5 separate regions of the Homo sapiens genome follow, and all the other regions are linked to region 2. Evidence: promoter capture Hi-C in 16 types of primary human blood cells and fetal thymus (Javierre and others, 2016). All regions are on one chromosome and are shown on one strand. Each heading gives the region's core, a stretch centred on a gene start or on the middle of the fragment in contact. The rest is flanking DNA. Distances are from core to core; before and after follow the strand shown. Region 1 holds the start of ZNF841 (zinc finger protein 841). Region 2 holds the start of ZNF585A (zinc finger protein 585A). Region 3 overlaps ZFP28 (ZFP28 zinc finger protein). Region 4 holds the start of ZNF468 (zinc finger protein 468). Region 5 holds the start of ZNF347 (zinc finger protein 347).

The links. Contacts are between HindIII fragments. The CHiCAGO score rates a contact against its expected background, and 5 or more counts as called.
Region 1: a contact is called between a fragment that was not itself captured here and the fragment with the promoter of ZNF585A in region 2, in 1 of 17 cell types (total CD4 T cells). The highest score is 5.2, in total CD4 T cells.
Region 3: a fragment that was not itself captured here is called in contact with the fragment with the promoter of ZNF585A in region 2 in 1 of 17 cell types (activated CD4 T cells); the score reaches 5.4 in activated CD4 T cells.
Region 4: the fragment with the promoter of ZNF468 here is called in contact with the fragment with the promoter of ZNF585A in region 2 in 1 of 17 cell types (total CD4 T cells); the score reaches 6.4 in total CD4 T cells.
Region 5: a contact is called between the fragment with the promoter of ZNF347 here and the fragment with the promoter of ZNF585A in region 2, in 2 of 17 cell types (activated CD4 T cells and naive B cells). The highest score is 9.2, in activated CD4 T cells.

The regions. Positions count from the first base shown.
Region 1 is chr19:52,093,745-52,097,821 of GRCh38, forward strand. ZNF841 (zinc finger protein 841) reads right to left here and starts at 2,021. Exons shown (of 7, transcript NM_001136499.2): 1 at 1,831-2,021; 2 at 102-227. The HindIII fragment of the contact is 4,438 bases long and covers 1-4,077 here.
Region 2 is chr19:37,170,703-37,174,695 of GRCh38, forward strand. It overlaps ZNF585A (zinc finger protein 585A), which reads right to left and starts at 1,993. Exons shown (of 5, transcript NM_001288800.2): 1 at 1,925-1,993. RefSeq lists enhancers at 1,894-2,083, 1,925-2,219. The HindIII fragment of the contact is 2,114 bases long and covers 855-2,968 here.
Region 3 is chr19:56,552,007-56,556,043 of GRCh38, forward strand. ZFP28 (ZFP28 zinc finger protein) reads left to right here. Exons shown (of 8, transcript NM_020828.2): 8 at 1,678-4,037. The coding sequence ends at 3,386. All of the region lies in intron 1 of ZNF470-DT (ZNF470 divergent transcript), which reads right to left. Among named protein-coding and RNA genes, the nearest start is that of ZNF470, 13 kb to the right of the region's middle. RefSeq lists an enhancer at 2,245-3,444. The HindIII fragment of the contact is 210 bases long and covers 1,822-2,031 here.
Region 4 is chr19:52,856,005-52,860,141 of GRCh38, forward strand. It overlaps ZNF468 (zinc finger protein 468), which reads right to left and starts at 1,615. Exons shown (of 4, transcript NM_001008801.2): 1 at 1,568-1,615. It also overlaps a transcript of ZNF320 not described here. RefSeq lists an enhancer at 1,214-1,293. The HindIII fragment of the contact is 10,660 bases long and covers 1-3,617 here.
Region 5 is chr19:53,157,356-53,161,748 of GRCh38, forward strand. It overlaps ZNF347 (zinc finger protein 347), which reads right to left and starts at 1,698. Exons shown (of 5, transcript NM_032584.3): 1 at 1,654-1,698. RefSeq lists an enhancer at 1,601-1,895 and a silencer at 1,631-1,880. The HindIII fragment of the contact is 5,586 bases long and covers 1-3,939 here.

The DNA of each region.
Region 1 (4,077 bases), core at 970-3,469, about 15 Mb after region 2:
AGCTTCCAAAATAACAATTAATTAACTGTAAAGCAACTACAAAGAAAAAAGTAAATTCATTACAAAAAAACAAGACTTTCAATGCTTCTGCGAAGACATACCTTGTAGGCCTAGTGTGGTGGCTCACATCTGTAATTCCAGTGCGTTGAGAGGCTGAGGTGGAAAGACTGCTTGAGGCCAGGAAGTAGAAGCTGCAGTGAGCCGAGATCATGCCACTGCTCTCCAGCCTAGGCGGCAGAGAGAGACCATGTCCCCCCCCAAAACAAAACAGAACAAAGCCAAAAAAAACACCAAAGACATATCTTGTAGTGACAGTCAGTCATTTCTTGCCCCATTTCTCCCCTCCTTTATGCTCTACTCCATCATTGGGAAGAAGAGAGTTACCACAAATAACTGGATCAAGTCACTGCCCTCTGGCTAAATAGGAATTCCAAATATCTTTTGATACAAATACATACAAAATGCACAAGGCTTATAGAAAAAACTTTGGTGATTTTCATCCTCATGAGTACAACTTAAACATATTTCAAATCAGAGTATAAAGCCACAAATCAATATATTACAACCACCATCCATATCCAATCAACTGTCACGCATCTGGATGGGGTCCTCTCCCGCTTTCTTCACGGCTATGTGTTTCCCTCTCTCATTCTGAGCGTCTTTTTTTTCTCCTTTTCTGTTTTGCACCCCTTTCTTTATTCCCTCTTTTATGTCTGTTCTGCCCAATGCTCTGCAACTTACTTCACCTCTCGTAGCTCTTTCTCCCCAATCTTTCCGATTGTCCCCAATCTCCACGTATTTCTGCCTCTTTTCCCCCATCTAAGCTCCCTCTCTGCTCTCCTTGTTAAATTCCCTCTTCCCTGTTACATCTCCTTTGTTCCCACTCTCTAGCACCCCCAATTTCCTAGGCTTACTCCCTGCTGTGGTTCTCCCTCTACTCTGCTTGTCACCCACTGCCCTCTCTCCCTCTCTTTCAGTCCCAGCACCACGTAGCTCTGTCAGCCGCGGCTCCAACTCTTTCACCTTCTCCCCACTGTCTGTCTGTCTGCAGTGCCTCCTCCTTTGCCGCCCCACTCTATTTTGCTGCCCTTCATCTCTCTGAAGGTCCCCTTTTTTTCTAAATTTCTCTGTGTGCTTTTCTCCCCCTGCTACTTTTTCCATCCGTTCTCTTTCACTCTTGCTCTCTTTGCAAGTCCCTAAAGTATCATCCATTTTGCCGTGTATTTATGGGTCTCCCTCATTCTTTTCTCCTCAGTTTTTCCTTTTGCTCCGTCGTTCCCCGTCTTTTCCTCTCCTGATCCCTCTCACCCACACATTCGGGAGGAAAGGGGAGGAATAGGATGCCCACCTCCCGGAAGAGCACATTTTCCAGTGGAGTAAAATTTGGGAAGGAAGAACACTGGGTGTCACAAGACAGACTCAGGTAACCTGTCCCAACGGGGAGTCAAGAAAAGCAGTGGCTGTGAAGGGGAAGCCTGGGGAGCGGAAGGACCCGGCGTGAGGACGACACGAGGTGGCGCGGAGAACGATGTCTCACGACAGGGAGGGTCTGCAGAATCCCAGGACGTGGGAGGAGAAGCGGCTCCTTCAGGAGCCGGACAGTGGGCGCTCCCCTCCAGGGGCAGACGACGGAGGAGCTCGGGGATCGCGAAGGGCGCTAGTCCACATCCCGAATGAGGACTCGACTTGGCGCGGGGCCCAAGCAGAGGGTTTTAAGCGGGAACACTACCTGAATGGGGTTGTCTACATGGTCCTAAGGAAGAAAGGCAGAGAGCAAGGAACGGCCTCAGAGAGATTTTAAACCGAAAGGGAAGCAATTCTCCTACTTACTTGGGACGAAGGGGCTGTTGCGGGTATTTTAAGGTCCGTAGCGATCCCCAGGTCACGGGTATGGAGAACCGAGGACTGCGAAGTGCACGTTTAATCAAGGTAGACGAAGAGAAGCAAACGTTTAATCCAGGTAGACTGAAACACACTCATAGCGACGTGGCCTTTCCCCAGCGCGATCTGCTTCCGGGTGTGCAGGAAACTGGGCGCGGAAAGAAAAACTGGGCGGCCTGGGGGCGGGGCCTAGGCGGGGCGCGACTAGGAAAGGGCTGGGCGGAAAGACTGGCCTGACTTGGGAGTGGCCCGAAAGGGTGGTGGGAGGCCCAGGGCGGTAGGGGGCGTGACTAGGTGGGGCTTGGCTGGACCGAAAACTGGGATGAAGCGGGGCCTCCAGGGGTGGGCGGGGCCGAGGCGGGGCCTGTTCTCCACTCCGCCTCTCACCCAGCAGGATTTTGTTTTCCAGGTTTGGGAGTATTTGTGACTATTTCTTGTCCTGTGAAGCAGCGTTGCTCCTTGCCCATTTTAAATTAATGTTTCAGAATTTAAGGTTGAATCTTAAAGTTGTGGTCCACTTATACTGGAAACTAAGATGATTTATTCTTAACAAGTTGAACTGATTTAAGTCAAAACCGATTTTTCCGAGCCTGGTGGACTCCATCCAGTCTTACCAGAAAAGCTGAAGCTACTCAGTAGTCAGGGAACTGGGATCTCGGTGGGGATTGGATGTGGAGCAGTGACTGGATCCAGGAACCCAGAAGACATTATGCCAAGCGAAATGTGCTAGACACAGTGTAGAAAATGAAATAAGTAGAGGTTCCTCTTCAAAGGGACTTTCCTCCCAGTCTAATTGAGAATAGATAGTAACCTCTCTTAGAAGCAAAATTTACTCAAAGACCTGTGCTAATATTCTTAAATATCTGCTAGCCATAATAGATAAATCAATATACTCTGTGTTCTTAGCTCCCACATTTTAGCCTAGATATTTGCCCTGGCATGCCTGAATTGTTCCAAGCAAGCATTAGGTCACAGCCTATTCCTCTTCCTTATTTGGAAGTGTTTTTGCCTCTCTCAGCCTTCCACAAGTTACTTCCTCTCTTCCTTTGTTCTCCTCTGCCTTTGCCTCTTTTGGGAAGTTCTAAGGTGCTAGCCAATCAGGTCAAGCACAGAATTGGGTCCGATTCCAGCCAATGGAAACCAGACACAGCAGTAGGGTGGACGCGTCAGGTTATTATTATTATTATTTTTTTTGAGACGGAGTCTCGTTCTTTCGCCCAGGCCGGAGTGCAGTGGCGCTATCTCGGCTCACTGCAAGCTCTGCCTCCTGGGTTCACGCCATTCTCCTGCCTCAGCCTCCCGAGTAGCTGGGACTAGAGGCACCTGCCACTGCGCCCAGCTAATTTTTTGTATTTTTAGTAGAGACGGGGTTTCACTGCGTTAGCCAGGATGGTCTCGATCTCCTGACCTCGTGATCCGCCCACCTCGGCCTCCCAAAGTGCTGGGATTACAGGCATGAGCCACCGCGCCCGGCCAGATGCGTCAGGTTATAAATGACCCTTCTCTTTTGTTCATGTGTACTCTCGTGGCAAGACTGCTAGTGAGCAGCACCCTTTCTGCAGAAAGTAAACTAGCCTTGCTGAGAGATCCTTTGTCTCAGTGTTGATTTTTGCGACACTGAGCACCCGTTCCCAACACACACAAAGAAACATACTTCATGCACTTACTTACACGTGCTAAGTACAAACATCAAATTCAGAGTAACAAAGTAGAAGGGTGGTTTCCAGGGCTGAGGGTGTTTCCTATGCCTGTCCCACCATTGTATTTTGGAAGCAGATAACTTCTCTGGCTTCACAGATTCACAGCTGGGCAGAAACTTTGCCTCAGGATGAACCACACCTTGTGTCTCACCCATATGTGATTCAGATAATATTTAGGTGATATTTGGGCCTTAGAGTTGATACTGAAATGGATTAAGACTTTTCAGATGGGCCAGGCAAGGTAGCTTAGGCCTGTAACCCCAACAATTCAGGAGGCCGAGTCTGGCAGATTACTTGAGCTCAGGAGTTCAAGACCAGCCTGGGCACATAGCAAGAACCCCGTCTCTACAGAAGATATAAAAATTAGCCATGCTTAGTGGCACACTCCTGTAGTCCCAGCTACTTGGGCGGCTGAAGTGGCAGGATCACTTAAGGCCAAGGATTTGAGACCAGCCTGGGCAACATAGTCAGACCCCATCTCTACAAAAAATTAAAT
Region 2 (3,993 bases), core at 743-3,242:
TGACCTCCTGATCCGCTCGCCTCTGCCTCCCAAAGTGCTGGGATTACAGGCGTGAGCCACTGCGCCCAGCCATTTCTTCACTTTTAATTTCAGAAATGAGGATGAAAATGCTTATCTCAAAGTTACAAAAATTAAATGAGATAATACTTGTAAAGTACTCAACACCTCCCAGGCACACAAAAATCATACAATACATATCAGCGATTACCATGCATTATCAGATATTAAAACAATATAAAAACAATGTAATAAAAACAAGTAAAACAATAAATATACCAGACAATATTGATCTATATATGTGATAAAAGTGGTATTCAAATGAGTGTGCATAAGACATTCATTGCATAAATGGCAGTGATATAATGCAGTGATATAACTGGCTGGCCACCTGGAAAAAAACAAACTAGATCTCCATCACACACTATTCAGTAGGCAAATGCCAGCAGGACTGATCACTTAATTATGTGTATTTGTTAAATCACAAAGACTATTAAAATAAATTTTAGAAGTATACATGTGTATAACACTGTGGTGGGCTGGGAGGGATCTTATTACACGTGAGAGGAAACACAGACTCTGTAACAGAAAAATCAGATACTTTTGATTAGATGATATTTCCTAACTTTATGTTAAAATATACCACAAAAAAAAGTAGGACAAAAGATATGAAAATTCACAGAAAAGGAAACAAATGGCAATTAACCAAATAAGATGCCAACTTTAGTAACTGGAAAATGCATTGGAGCAATTAGATATAATTTTCCCTCAAAATTTTAAAAACTTTTAAAATGCAACAATATCCACTGCTGGAAAAGCATCTGGGAAAATGAGTTATTTTATAAATTGTTGGTATAAGCTTGAATTGTTATATTTTGAGCTACTTAGTCATATCTATAAAGTATTAAAAATGCACATATGCCGGGCGCAGTGGCTCACGCCTGTAATCCCAGCACTCTGGGAGGCGGAGGCAGGTAGATCACCTGAGGTCAGGAGTTTGAGACCAGCCTGGCCAACATGGTGAATCCCCGTCTCTACTAAAAAATACAAAAAATTAGCTGGGCGTGGTGGCGGGTGCCTCTAATCCCAGCTACTCTGGAGGCTGAGGCAGGAGAATCCGTTGAACCCACTAGGCAGAGGTTGCAGTGAGCTGAGATCGCGCCACTGCACTCCAACTTGGGTGACAGAGCGAGACTCCATCTCAAAAAAAAAAAAAGTGCACATAGTTATTCCTAATAATTTCACATATATAAAGCAGAAAAAGAAGGACAAATGGACAAATAACCTTTCCAGAGTTGAGTACTTTACCTTCCTCTGTAATTAAGCAGACAAAATAATCTGTGAGGAGACAGATATATTTTTTGAATATATGCTTAATTAATATCTATAACAATACAATTAGAGAACATAGTACACTGTTTCTATGTAATAGATGTGACATTCATGAAAACTGACCACGAACTAGGTCATAAAGCAATTTTTCAATTTGACCATTAAACAGACATTACTTTAAAAAGGAACTTCTAAATAACTCATGGATCAAAGAAAAAACCACTTAGATTTGAACAATTTTTAATACAAAGATTCACCAAAACTTGAGAATTTTTATATTAAAGAAGACTGAAAATTAAAAAGCTGAACTTTCAACTCAGGTTAGAAAGCAAGCTGATTACAGTCCTCACCGATCACCATAACTGACCCTACAGGCTCTGTCACTGACCACAGACTCCCATCACTGACCCCCAAACCTCAATCACTCATCCCAAAGAGCTCCATCAATGACCTGAGAAATCCGTCACAATCAACAACGGACGCCACAGAACCCCATCACCGAAGCCTGAAACCGCAATCACTAACTCCACAGGCAACCTCGACACCCCCTATTACTGGCTCCACAGAAACCCCAATCGTGATCAACCAAAATCACCTCAAAGATTTATCGGTATTGGAATATGAAAATACTCCTGACACCAGCGGCAAAAAAGCCTTGGAAGACCACTTCCACTTCCGGTCCGACTTCTAGCACCTCCCCTTTGTAGGCTGTTGATATGGCGCATGCTCTGAATAAACTTGGAAGCCAGTTTCCTCGAACAGTCAACAGGGCGCAGACACAGCGCACAGGTTCCGTAATGTGGCGCTGTCCGGCAGAGAACATGGCCGCGCCCTTATGGTGTTTATTCGCGTGGGCCGCCATTTTGAAAGCATATCCATTCCGTAGAGCAGAGGAATTGGCCGCTGGCAGGGTTTCCTAGAGCGAGGCAGGTATAGTTACATAGGATGCTGGAGTGTGACCCTTGTCTGACTAGGCTTCTATTTCGGAGGAGAAAGTTACTGGAAATGTGGGTCTGGTGCTGTATGTTATATTTAGAAAAGCTAAGTTACCTTTCTGAATACAGGACACTGAGGATAATAATTACCAGGGAATAGAGGAGCCAGGGAAAAATCACCAAGTGAAGGGGATCCTGGGAGAAACCACAGGCAGATGATAGGAGGAATCAGGATAGTACAGTCCATTTTTTACAGACGCCATTCAGGGAAAAGGTGGAAAGGTCACTAGGGGAGTCATCTCTTGAGTGAAACCACCCTGAAAGTCTGAGAGACATCTGAATGAGTAGTAGGCTGCAGGAAGAGTGGTACAACTTTTAATGGGAGAAACCGCCTTGGGAAATAGGGTAGAAGTCCAATAGTATTAATACAATCCTCTCCTGGGAGATACCACCAGAGGAGGGAGGAGAAGTCCGGGCGTCCCCTTCTGAAGGGCTGGGTCGGGTGGGAAGGTGAATAGAGATTTGAATCACCCATTACCCTCCACACTAAATACCTCAAGTGCAACTATAGTAGGCAGCAATAATAACAACACTAATAGTCTTTAGTATGGCCAACGTGTTACTAAAAGCACCTAAAGAAGACTGTTTTTATTTACCTTGAAGTTAAAATATAATTAATAACAATCGCCTTACCATGTCAATGAAGCTTTAAGTGCAGTCTCTGACCCTTAGCTTCTCCTCTGTGGAAATTCTGAAACCTCCTTACTCCCCTTTTTGGAGGGTGTGGATGAGGAGTTGTAAAGATACAATTCCTTTCACTTGGTGAACTCCTAAACATGATTCACAGCTCAGCTTCTGACAGGAAGTTCTACCTGAACAGTGGTGGGAAATTACTACCCAATGTGTTCAGTTCCAGCAGGTGGGAAACTTGTTTTCAGGGAATTGAACCTACACTCTGATGTGGGCATGCTGGATGCCTTCAGGCCAGTTATGTCTGTCTCTGGGACTCGGCTTAAAAATATGTTTAGAGAATTAGACTCTGCTGATCTCAGGTTTTCTTTCTTCTCCGAAAGGACGGTCTAAGGAAACATCTGTGGAAGTCCGTTAGTAAACACACAATTTCTACCAAGGGGCTAAGAATTACTGTTGATTTTGTCAGTAATGCAGCTCTGTTAAAAAGAAGATGACTTAACTTTTAGGGATTCGTGTGGAAATATTTATGGGTGGAATAATATTAGCTTTAAAAACTCCACTGAGAAAAAAAAAACTCCACTGAGAAGGGGTATATGGTATTGCAAAAGAAAATGTTGATAAATGTTAAAGCAGAGTGATAAGTAGACAGAACTCATTATAATGTTCTCTTCCATAGTATTTGTGTGAAATTTTCATAGTAAATTTCTAATTTAAAAAGAAAGGAATTAAAAACATTTACAAGGAAACATCAAGAAGACAGCAGGTGTGGTCATAGTGTTAGGGAAGATGAAACCTAGGAGACCCAGAGTGACACCATTTTAAGTTCAGCTCCATCTTGACACTAGCAAGGCACATTCATTGCAAGTCACAACTCATGGTCCTAATGTGTTTACAGCGAAGGAAGCAGCCCTGTAATGCCTGCAAAGACAAACTCCTAGAACAACAGAAAGTCCAGATGTCCAATACCCATAACAATAAATGCTTTCAAGATCATTATAGTTATACTTTGATGTACTTACTAAAATGTCAGGGATAG
Region 3 (4,037 bases), core at 677-3,176, about 19 Mb after region 2:
TTCTAATGTGATTTCTCCTATTTGTGTGGCTAACAACTTGACACATATAGTTCTATTTCATTTTTAATGACTATTTAGTATTATATGAATATATATAATTTATTTAAATTATTTACTGTTGAGTATATTTAAACATTTAGGAGGTCTTCTCCAGTTTTCACCTATAATCAACAGTGGTCCAGTTTGTACATATCTTCTTGCTTACATGTCAGAATATTTCTTGAAGATATATGCTTGGAAATGAATTTGCATGGTCGAAGTATATGTATTTTTAAAGTGTCATGGATATTTTGCTGTACCGTTGGTAAAGAATATATGAGAATACTGTTTCTAGACATCATCACCAATATGGGTATTTTGTAGTTTAAAAAAAATTTTGCCAAGCTGCTAGATGAAAAATGTTTTATTTAATTTGCATTTCCCCAACTACTTACGATGTTGAGAATATGTGCTCTTAAATCTGTTTAGAGTTTGTATTCTATTCATAGTGTGTTTATACTCATTAGTCACATTTCTATTGGGTTGTATATTTTCCTGTATTTATGCAACATTGATATGAATGCTATTTTTTAATAAGTTTGATAAAATTTTTCCCCAATTTTGTGTGGTCTAGAAGTTTGCATATGGTATTTCTTACTATATAGTAGCTTAACTTGGGAATTATCTTCATTTATAGAAGCACGTACTTTGTTGATTTTTTCATTTGTTTCACTCCTATCTCTTAAAAAATGAATAGATGTATAGTCCCATTTGAATCATATAATACATTTGTTTGACCTTCTGTAACTTAATTATTTCTCTCTCCTTTATCACCTTCCTTCCTTTTCTTTCTTTCCTTCTCATTTTTCCCTTCTTTCCTTACCTTTCTCTTCTGTATTTTGCTGTGTGGCCTGTTTTTTGTTTGTTTTATTTACATATTTTTATTATAGAAGAGTACACATAAAATTTAACCATTTTGAAGTGTACAATTCAGTGACAGTATATTATGTGAGGTGATATGGTAATTAGCTTGATTGTGGCAAACATTTCACCATGTATAAGCATATCAAAACATTTTATACCTTAAATATATACAATTTTTATTTGTCAACTATGCCTCAATAAAGCTGGAAAAATATTGCCAAAAAGAGAGAAATTGCAAGGCTTCATTATAGAATGGCCAGAGAATTGAGGATGTTTTCAGGCTTGTGGAAGTAACCAGGAAAATGTGAAAATAATTGTTTTTTTTTTTTGAGTCAGATTCTGGCTCTGTTCCCCAGGCTGGAGTGCAGTGGCTTGATCATAGTTTACTGCCACATCAACCTCCTAGGCTCAAGCAATCCCCCTGCCTTTGCCTCCTGAGTAGCTGGAACTACAGGCACATACTACCATGCCTGGCTAATTTTAAAAAGTTTTTTAGAGATAGGGTCTTGCTATGTTGTGCAGGCTATGTTGTCCTGGCCTCAAGTGATCCGCCTCAAGTGATCTGCCTCAGGTGATCCACCTCAGCCTCCCAAAGCACTGGGATTACAGGTGTAAGCCACTGTGCCTGGCCCTAAATGTAATAGTTTTTAGAGCTGTAAAATGTATGTTGATGAATTCACCAATTAGTGAATTAATTCACTAGTTTTCCTTTTGGCAGATTCCTTTTTCCTAGCACACGAAAAAGGAAATATGTGTTTTCTTGGTATCTTTCAGGCCAGCGATCTGTACATGAGACCCAGGAATTATTTCCAAAGCAAGATTCATATGCTGAAGGGGTAACAGACAGAACCTCAAACACTAAACTTGATTGTTCCAGTTTCAGAGAAAATTGGGATTCTGACTATGTGTTTGGAAGGAAGCTTGCAGTAGGTCAAGAGACACAATTCAGGCAAGAGCCAATTACTCATAACAAAACCCTCTCTAAGGAAAGAGAACGTACATATAACAAATCTGGAAGATGGTTCTATTTGGACGATTCAGAAGAGAAAGTTCATAATCGTGATTCAATTAAAAATTTTCAAAAAAGTTCAGTGGTAATAAAACAAACAGGCATCTATGCAGGAAAAAAGCTTTTCAAGTGTAATGAATGTAAGAAAACTTTTACCCAGAGCTCATCTCTTACTGTTCATCAGAGAATTCACACTGGAGAGAAACCTTATAAATGTAATGAATGTGGGAAGGCCTTTAGTGACGGCTCATCCTTTGCCCGACACCAGAGATGTCACACTGGCAAGAAGCCCTATGAGTGCATTGAGTGTGGGAAAGCTTTCATACAGAACACATCCCTTATCCGTCACTGGAGATACTATCATACTGGGGAGAAACCCTTTGATTGCATCGATTGTGGGAAAGCCTTCAGTGACCACATAGGGCTTAATCAACACAGGAGAATTCATACTGGAGAGAAACCTTACAAATGTGATGTATGTCACAAATCCTTCAGGTATGGTTCCTCCCTTACTGTACATCAAAGGATTCATACCGGAGAAAAACCATATGAATGTGATGTTTGCAGAAAAGCCTTCAGCCATCATGCATCACTCACTCAACATCAAAGAGTACATTCTGGAGAAAAGCCTTTTAAGTGTAAAGAGTGCGGAAAAGCTTTTAGGCAGAATATACACCTTGCCAGTCATTTAAGGATTCATACTGGGGAGAAGCCTTTTGAATGTGCGGAGTGTGGAAAATCCTTCAGCATCAGTTCTCAGCTTGCCACTCATCAGAGAATCCATACTGGAGAGAAGCCCTATGAATGTAAGGTTTGTAGTAAAGCGTTCACCCAGAAGGCTCACCTTGCACAGCATCAGAAAACCCATACAGGAGAGAAACCATATGAGTGCAAGGAATGCGGTAAAGCCTTCAGCCAGACCACACACCTCATTCAACATCAGAGAGTTCACACTGGTGAGAAACCCTATAAATGTATGGAATGTGGGAAGGCCTTTGGTGATAACTCATCCTGTACTCAACATCAAAGACTGCACACTGGCCAAAGACCTTATGAATGTATTGAGTGTGGAAAGGCATTCAAGACAAAATCCTCCCTTATTTGTCATCGCAGAAGTCATACTGGAGAAAAACCTTATGAATGCAGTGTGTGTGGCAAAGCCTTTAGTCATCGTCAATCCCTTAGTGTACATCAGAGAATCCATTCTGGAAAGAAACCATATGAATGTAAGGAATGTAGGAAAACCTTCATCCAAATTGGACACCTTAATCAACATAAGAGAGTTCATACTGGAGAGAGATCTTATAACTATAAGAAAAGCAGAAAAGTCTTCAGGCAAACTGCTCACTTAGCTCATCATCAGCGAATTCATACTGGAGAGTCGTCAACATGCCCCTCTTTACCTTCCACGTCAAATCCTGTGGATCTGTTTCCCAAATTTCTCTGGAATCCATCCTCCCTCCCATCACCATAGCCTCGAGACGTCATTTCTGTTTGACTACTCCAGCAGTTTAAAACCCCATCTCCCTGCCCTTTTGTTTTCTTTTTGTCCCTTATTAGTTAGTTCTTCACATAAGTGTAAATGTAACTTATTCACTCCTCTTGTAAAACTTATAGTTTCTTTAAATTGGTTAATGTGTGAGATGTGCTCAGCACAGTGCCTGGTCCATAGTAAGTGCTCAGTAAACTTAGCTGTTTTAAAAACTTTGTATTTGAACATTGAAAAGTTACAGTAGTCAGCTCTGATAAAAAAATGATGCAGTAGGGTGAGGGTAGGAAAAAGCACATTTTCTATCAGGAACAGAATTCTCCAGTAGTGGGTGAGGTTTTGCCTTTGTTGGTTTTAAAACTTGATTCTATAATGCCAAGTTAGTTTTGTGGCTTTCCATCTGACCCTATGTGAATGTAAGGTGATGTGACCTTGTTGGTGAGAAAATTAAACTTTACATTTGACTTGATTTGTTTTAGAAAGTCTAGGGACCATGAATGAATAGGCCAGCTGGGACAAATGAATTTAAAAAATCAGAAAAATGCAAGATTTATATGCATGAAGTTAAAACAACTGACGTTACTCAAGAATTAGAAAACTTTGCAAGATTTGACTTGTTTAAAAATCACATTTATA
Region 4 (4,137 bases), core at 365-2,864, about 16 Mb after region 2:
CCATTCTTAAAATTAGAGAAGCATTTTTCACATGCCTGGGTTAAAGAAAATTCTTTTGAAAGGTTCTGATGAAATTGACTCCCAACATTGAATTCTTCCTTACAAGAAAATCACACTAACATTTATAAAATGCAGCAGTGTAAACACACAGCTCTTGACCTTGAAAACAGGGAAACAGGGTCAGCTGTAGAACCAAGACATAAGCAAATTATTTCAATCAAGAAATACATGGGTGGACAGCTGAGGTGGTTCACACCTGTAATTCCAGCACTTTGGGAGGTGGAGGTGGGTGGATTACCTGAGGTCAGGAGTTTGAGACCAACCTGGCCAACATGGTGAAACCCTATCTCTACTAGAAATACAAAAATTAGCTGGGCTCCATCCTTGCAACTTATTTAACCTCCTGTTGGTCCTTCTCCCCAATCTTTAGATCGTCCTCAATCTCCATAGATTTCTGCCTCTTCTCCCATCTATGCGCCTCCTCTGCTCTCCCTGTTAAATTCTCTCTTCTCTGTTATAACCCCCTGGACCCAATCTGGCACCCCAGATCCCCAGGTGTCCTCCCCGCTGTGCTTCTCCCTCTGTTCTCCTTGCCACCAGCACCACTCTGCTCTGTCTGACCCGGCTCCACATCCCTCCTCCTCTCCCTCACTCTGATGAGCCTCCACATTTCTGCCCCTCTCCCTACCTTGCTGTCCTTCATCTCTCTGTACATCTAGCTTTTCTCTACATTTCTCCAGTTGCTTTTCTCCTCCTGCTTTCTTATCTTTTATCACTTTTGCTGTCTCTTGGCAAATCCCTCACCCATCCTCTACTTTGCCATCTGTTATGGGTCTTTCTCATTCTTCTTTTCTCTGTCTCAGGTTTTCTACTGCTCTCTCAGTCCCTCTCTCTGTCTCCTGATCCCTTTGGCCCACACGATCACAAGAGGGTTTGGAGTAAGACGCCTGCATCTCGGAGAAGCGCATTTTCCAAGTGCTGGAGCTGGGCGGGCAAGAACACCCCGCGTCACAGGACAAGCCCCAGGCACCTCTCCAACGAGGGCTCAGGGGACGCGGTGACTGCGGAGGGGAGATCTGGGGAGCAGCAGGGCCCAGCAAGAGGAGGAGGGAGGTGGGGAGCGACGACGCCTTCGGACAAGGGTGGGATCCGCAGGATCCCAGGACCACAGAACGCAGCCTTCCCGGGACTGGGGTCGCCGCGCTGTGCTCCAGGAACCCAGGAGAGTAAGGCTGGGAGGCGCACAGGGTGGGAATACACCTCTAGGGTGAGGACTTTAAAAAGAGCCGTGCGGAAGGAGTCAAAAAACGGTTTTGAGCAGGAAAACTACGCGATAGGAAACGTATACATTGCCCTATGGCAGAAAGACCCGGGACGGGACCAGCCTCAGGGCGACTTTAAACCTAAAAAGAAGGGGCTTCCGGACTCCCAGTAGAACATCTCCATTTGCTCTGAGTGAAGGAAGAAAGGCGAGAACTTCCAGGTCTATGGGGACCCCACATCCCATGTACAGAAGTGCCGGGGACCTGGGAAGCTCAGACTTAACACCACACAGAGCAAAACTCACCGCCCGCCGCGGCGTGACCGTCATTCCACGGGATCCACTTCCTGGTCTGCGCGAATCTGCGCGCGCAGGACAGAAACCAGGCCTGGGTGGAGCCAACGAGGAGGCGAGCGGGGCCCGGGTGAGGTGTGGGCGGGGCGCGAAGCGGCGAGACCTTGCCCTTTAGAACCCGCAGAGGGCGGGGCCGGAGCGGGACCTGTGCATCTCTCAGCCTCCTCCCAACCCGTTCTCCGGGTTTTGGCGGCGAGAGCCCCCAGGAAGGCAGACGGATAATTCAAAAGCCCTGGAATAGTCTGGAAGGAGGATGCAAACTAGAATGTAAAATGCAAAGCCCTTTCTGGGCGGAACGTAGGATTTCATGCTGATGGCCCACAGGACAGTATAGAAATCTTCTCCCTTTCTATTCTCCATTCACTCAGGAGGGAGAGTCCACCCAGTGCTCAGCTTCAGAGACATCCCTAGGGCCACAGCCTGGGATGCCAGACGGAGTGCTCAGGCCAGGGAGGAGTGAGGTCACCACCTGCTGCTTAAACACAGCAGGGATGCGGGCGTGGGAGCCTGAGGTCCCAGCTACTCAGGAAGCAGCGGCGGGAGGATCGCTCAGCCTGGGGGTCCAGGACAGCCTGCGCGACAATGTAACATTCCCTCCCGCAGTCTCTCTCTTTTTTAAATTTTTAAAATAAAATTTTTATTAGGCCGGGCACGGTGACTCACGCCTGTAATCCCAGCACTTTGGGAGGCTGAGGCGGGCGGATCACGAGGTCAGGAGATCGCGACCATCCTGGCTTACACGATGAAACCCCGTCTCCACTAAAAATACAAAAATTAGCCGGGCGTGGTGGCGGGCGCCTGTAGTCCCAGCTACTCAGGAGGCTGAGGCAGGAGAATGCGGTGAACATGGGAGGTGGAGCTTGCAGTGGGCCGAGACCGAGCCACTGCACTCCAGCCTGGGCGACAGAGCCAGACTCCCTCTCTAAAAATAAATAAACAAACTAAATTTGCTTGTGTGAGATAGGAATACAACATTACTCTTCTCCATATGGATATCCAGTTAGTTGTCCCAGCACATTTGTAAAAGAGATCTGTTACTTTCTCCTTTTTATTTACATTTTTTCTTTTTCTTCTTCTTCTTCTTTTTTTTTTTTTTTTTGAGACTGAGTATTTCTCTGTCGCCCAGGCTGGAGTACAATGGTGACATCTCGGCTCACTGCAGCCTCTGCCTCCTGGGTTGAAGCGATTCTTCTGCCTCAGCCTCCGGAGTAGCTGGCATTACAGGCACACCCACCATGCCCGGCTAATTTTTGTATTTTGGGTACAGACGGGGTTTCATCATGTTGGACAGGCTGGTCTCGAACTCCTGACTTCAAGTGATCCGCCTGCCTCGGCCTCCCGAAGTTCTGGGATTACAGGCGTGAGCCACTGTGCCTGGCCCAAGAAATACTCTTTACTTCGCTTTTTAAATGTTGAAAAAATACAATTGAAAACTAAAAAATCTTCCCCAAAATGAGAAATCATCTTCATGACAAAACAGGAAGAAATAAAAACCATTTTATTAGTAAATAAGCCTTAGACCAGAATGTGTTGGGAAATACAGGCAAAGAGCTGAGAGGTTGAAAAGAGAGAAACTTCACTGCTCTATACAACCCATTAAGTACATGTTTTCAAGATAAACACTAATCAGTCCTCAGGGAAGAGGACTTGACAAGTCTTTGGTCGCACATAGTTCATCCTGGCTCTACTTGGTAATGGAGGTGACCATCTGTGTCAGCTAACTAGCTTCATGCAGAAGGAGGGGAAATACATTAACCCACGTCTTTTTGACAAGTGTGAGTTTTACGACATGGCGACAGGTGCCCTCTCTAGTGAGGCTCCTACAATCTGACGGAAACTGACGTCAGCAGTAAATAATAAAATTCAGAATACACGATTAATTATAGAGTTTATTGGAACACAAAGTTTGAGGATAGCCATCTGGAAACATCAACTCCAAATGAAGGGGGCCCGTGTTCCCATGTAGAGATGTTAAGGTTTCACACACAGGGAAAGACAGAGAAGCTTTAGCAGAATCAACACATTTTCCATTCAAGACCAGTGCATAGGCTGCGGCAGCTTGACTGGTGATGGATTGATACACTTCAAGGAAGGTTACTTTATCACTCCGTAAGAAGGGACAATGATGCCAAAAGGTCTTATCTCTGGGGCTGGGTAGTCTTCCTACTTACAGGTAAACTGTTTTTTTTTAAATTGATATTAGGAAACTAAATTTTATTGCACTACACGCTACCAGTTACAAAGTAGGGTGTCCTCATAAACAAAGGAAATGCCTCCTCTTTAAGTTTTTCTTTCTTTTTTTTTTTTTTTTGAGACGGTGTATCGCTCTGTCACCCAGGCTGGAATGCAGTGGCGCAATATCCGCTCACTGCAAGCTCCGCCTCCCGGGTTCACGCCATTCTCCTGCCTCAGCCTCCAGAGTAGCTGGGACTACAGGCGCCCGCCACCACGCCCGGCTAATTTTTGGAATTTTTAGTAGAGACGGGGTTTCACCGTGTTAGCCAGGATGGTCTCGATCTCCT
Region 5 (4,393 bases), core at 448-2,947, about 16 Mb after region 2:
CTTCCATACTGTGTGTTTCCCTCCCTCATCCTCTACATAGCTCTCATTCTCACATTAGCTTATTTTTTATTTTCTGTGTTTTTCCCCTGGTTCTTTGCGCGTCGTTCTGAGCCCCTCTCATCTCCTGCTATTTCTCCCCTTCTTCCTCCGCTTGCACCTGTTCTGTCCCATTCTGGGGCCTTGTTTCAACTCTGATTCCTCTTTCTCCCCAGTCTTTTCATTGTCCCCAGTCTCCATATATTTCTGCCTCTTTCTTCTCCCATCTCTGCTCCCTCTGTTGAATCTCCTCTTCCCTTCTACACCTCTTGCCCCACTCTCTGGCACCCCCAGATCCCAGGCCTCCCCCTGCTGTGGTTCTCCTTCTGCTCTCCTCGTCACCGGCTGTCCCCTCTTGCTGTCCCAGCACCACGCTGCTTGTCTGCCCTGGCTCCAAATCCCTCCTCCTCTCCCGGACTCTGTCTGAGGAGCCTCCCACTTTCTGGCCCTCTCCCTACCTTGCTGTCCTTCATGTCTCTGGACATCGAGCTTTTCTCTACATTTCCCCAGTTGCTTTTCTCCTTCTGCCTTCTCAGCTCCTTCTCTTACCATCTGCAAATCCCTCGCCCATCCTCTACTTTGCCATCTGGTTACGGGTTTCCCTCACTCTTTCCTCTCAGTTTTTCTACTTCTCTCTCTGTCTCTGCCCCTTTCTCTACCTGCTAATCCCCTTGGTCCACACATTCACAGGAAGGTTTGGACTAAGACGCCTGCATCTTGGAGGAGCGCATTTTCCAGGGGCTGGAGCTGGGCAGGCAAGAACACCGGGTGTCACAGGACAGGCCCCGGGCACCTCCCCAGCGCGGGCTCAGGAGAAGCGGGGACTGCGAAGGGGAGGCCTGGGGAGCAGCAGGGCCCGGCACGAGGAGGAGGGAGGTGGCGGGGCGACGGCGCCTTAGAAGAGGGGTGGGGTCTGCAGGATGCCAGGACCAGGCAGAGGACGCGGCCTCGCCGGTACCGGGGCTGAGGAGCTGCGCTCCAGGGGCCGACGAGGGCGAGGCTGGGAGGCACCCAGGGCGGGAATCCACCTCGCGGGCGAGGACTTTAAAAAGCCCGGGGCGGGAGGAGGGGTCAGGAAAGGGTTTTAAGCGGGAGGAAGACGCGAAAGGCCGGGGACAGGGAGAAGCCTCAGAGCTACTTCAACCCAAAGAGAAGCGACTCCGAACCCACACCGCGAGTCAGCTGGGGTGGAGGGCGCGGTGCGGGGATCTTAAGGTCTGTAGCTGCCGGGCGCAGTGGCTCACGCTTGTAACCCCAGCACTTTGGGAGGCCGAGGCGGGCGGATTACCTGAGGTCAGGAGTTCGAGATCAGCCTGGGCAACACGGTGAAACCCCGTCTCTACTAAAAATACAAAATTAGCCGGGCGTGGTGGCACATGCCTGTAATCCCAGCTACTCGGGAGGCTGAGGCAGGAGAATCGCTTGAACCTGGGAGGCGGAGGATGCGGTGAGCCGAAATCGCGCCATTGCACTCCAGCCTGGACAACAAGAGTAAATCTCCGTCTCACCAAAAAAAAAAAAAAAGAAAAAAAAAAAGGTCTGTAGCGAGCCCGGGAACTGGCTGCGGAAACGGGGCACGGCGGTTCGCAAGTTTAATCCATACTGAGGGACACTCACGCTCGGCGGCGTCACCCGCACCCAACACGATCCGCTTCCGGAACTGCAGAAAACTGCGCGTGCGCGGAAAAGAGCCCGGGCACTCTGGGGGCGGGGCCTGGGGAGAGGCGGGGTCTGCGGACGAAACGCTGGGGCGGAGCTGGGGCGGGGTCTGCGCTTCCCTCAGCCTGCCTAGCCCGCAGTCTCATTTTTCCCGGTTTAGAAACGCTGGAGTGTTCACTATGTCCCCGGGAGCACCGTTCCAATTTGAAGCAGTTTTAAGGTGAAAGAATAGACTTACGTGGACCACTTATGATAGAAACCAAAATGATTTCCTCTTACCAAGTTGAAAACGGTTTATGTTAAAATTGTTTGCCGGCGGGTTGGACCCAGTCCTGCTAGGGAGTCTGCTGCAGCTCAGGAACGGGGATCTGGGAATCGGGGATCTCGGTCTGGGAACTGGGATCTTAGTGGAGGATCCACGAGGCACGGCGATTGGATCCAGCAATTCCTGCAATTAAAATGTATTTAATTTAACTAAAATGTCTGGAAATTATCTCTGAGGATGATTCAAAGTAGAATGGGAAATGCAGCATCCTACCTGGACGGATATGCAATTTAATGCAGTAGCCCAACAGAACCTCCTTTACATTTCAAATCCCCATTCTCCCCAGTGGAAGAGTCAAGCCTGTGCTCAATTCATGGGAAGGTTAAGGCCGATAAGTTAGATCACCAAGGGCTGCTTTATTGTTCTTTAAAACATATATTTTTGTAAAGATGGGAGTCTCGGCCCAGGCTGGTCTCCAACTCTTGACCTCAAGCAATCCTCCTGCCTGGGCCTCCAAAATTGCTGGGATTACAGGAGTGAACTACTGTGCCCAGTCAACTACTGATTTAAACCATGTGAATTTTTAAAAAATAGAGATAAACTGCATTATTTTTGCTTATATTCGTTATTCCGTTCCACACTTGAAATGACTTAACCACAAACAACTTTGACATAATCTTTCTTTGCATCAAAATATGCTTAAATCAATAATTTCTAAATATCATGTAATTTCAAATTCACTTTATGGGCATTCTGAAGGGAACTTGACACAGTACTTTTTATTTTAAAATTGTAATCTATATTGGGTCTATTTTTTTGTTTTCTGTTTCTTAATGTTCTATCAGATGTGGATAACAGAGTGTGGAAAATAGTCACCACATGACAATTGGATTTATTTTCGCCTAAAGAATAGTTTTCCAGTATTTCTAACGTACCATCCCAGTACATTGACTGAACTAAAGACTCACAGGGATACCCTTTTTTCATGTTTATAGAGAACCTAGTTTATACCTGCTATTGTCTTATGTACATTTTCATGTCACACAATTTTATCTCCAAACAACACCCTTATTTATATACACCGTATAGTTTTCACTTTAACAAAATATTAAACGTTTCATCTGGGTTACAATATATGAAAGAAAAAAATAAAAGGGAAAATCATATTAAAAAATAAAAAGTAATTTTACTACAATTGAACATAAACCATGAAATATATTGCTCAATACCATAAACTGAAAATAACATTTCCATAGCCTTTGGAGAAATGCCCTTCCAGTAAAACTGCTTAATCATATTTATTATGTAAGAAACTTTTCCACAGATTTTCACTGAGTTAGTATAAAAACATCTTAGGCATTATAACTAAACAGGATTTCAAAAACATTTTCAACAGTTGTGTTATTTTTAATGAGTCCTATGGGTACAGCGGAAGAATAAATGTAGAATATTACTATCAAGAAAACTAGGGCAGGGCGTGGTGGCTCACACCTGTAATCCCAGCACTTTGGGAGGCAGAGGCGGGTGGATCACTTGAGGTCAGGAGTTCGAGACCAGCCTGGCCAACATGGTGAAACTGTCTCTACTAAAAATACAAAAATTAGCCAGGCGTGGTGGCACATGCCTGTAGTCCCAGCTACTTGGGAGGCTGAGGCAGGAGAATCACTTGAACCTGGGAGGTGGAGGTTGCAGTGAGCCGAGATCACGCCACTGCATTCCAGCCCCGGTGACAGAGCAAGCCTCCGTCTCAAAAAACAAAACAAAACAAACAAACAAAAAAGAAAACTGGGGTCTTCCCAAACCAAGAATTCAGAACTTTCCAGAGTAAATAATTCAGTGTACTAGCGTCAGTCTCCATTTTGTGATGTTGTACTACTAACGCTTTTACAGCTCTGCACTTCTGTTCTGCCCATTTGGTCAAACTGGTCATGCTTGAGTGCTTCCTCCTTTGTCACTAGATGGACGTTCAAACCACACAAAGCTTCCTCTAACCCATCCCCACACCTTATCAACCATAACACACCAAGCAAGTTGCTTATCTGGGCTCTCAAGCCATTTTTAGACCAGCTTTGGAAGTCTACCCAGCTTTCCCCAGAAACCCACATTATGTAATAAACAGTCTCATAACACTTCTCAACCAACCTTTAGGTGAAGTTCAATACAGTTCCAGTAGAGAGGTCACAAGTTCAAATGATCAAAATGTTATGAGGGTGAACATACAAACTTTGTCGTTTATCTGCCAGGAAAAAAAAAAATCTGAATGTGTTATGTTCTTTCTTAAAAGAAAATTTATATATATTAATTTTTCCAATTGCCACTGAGCATTCCAAAGGTAAAAAAGAGATGTTGTTGTTTTTATCCATATTCCCCACAGTTTTTTTGTTTCCTAATATGTCATATTTTTACTATACTTGTATTTTCACTTCAGGTACA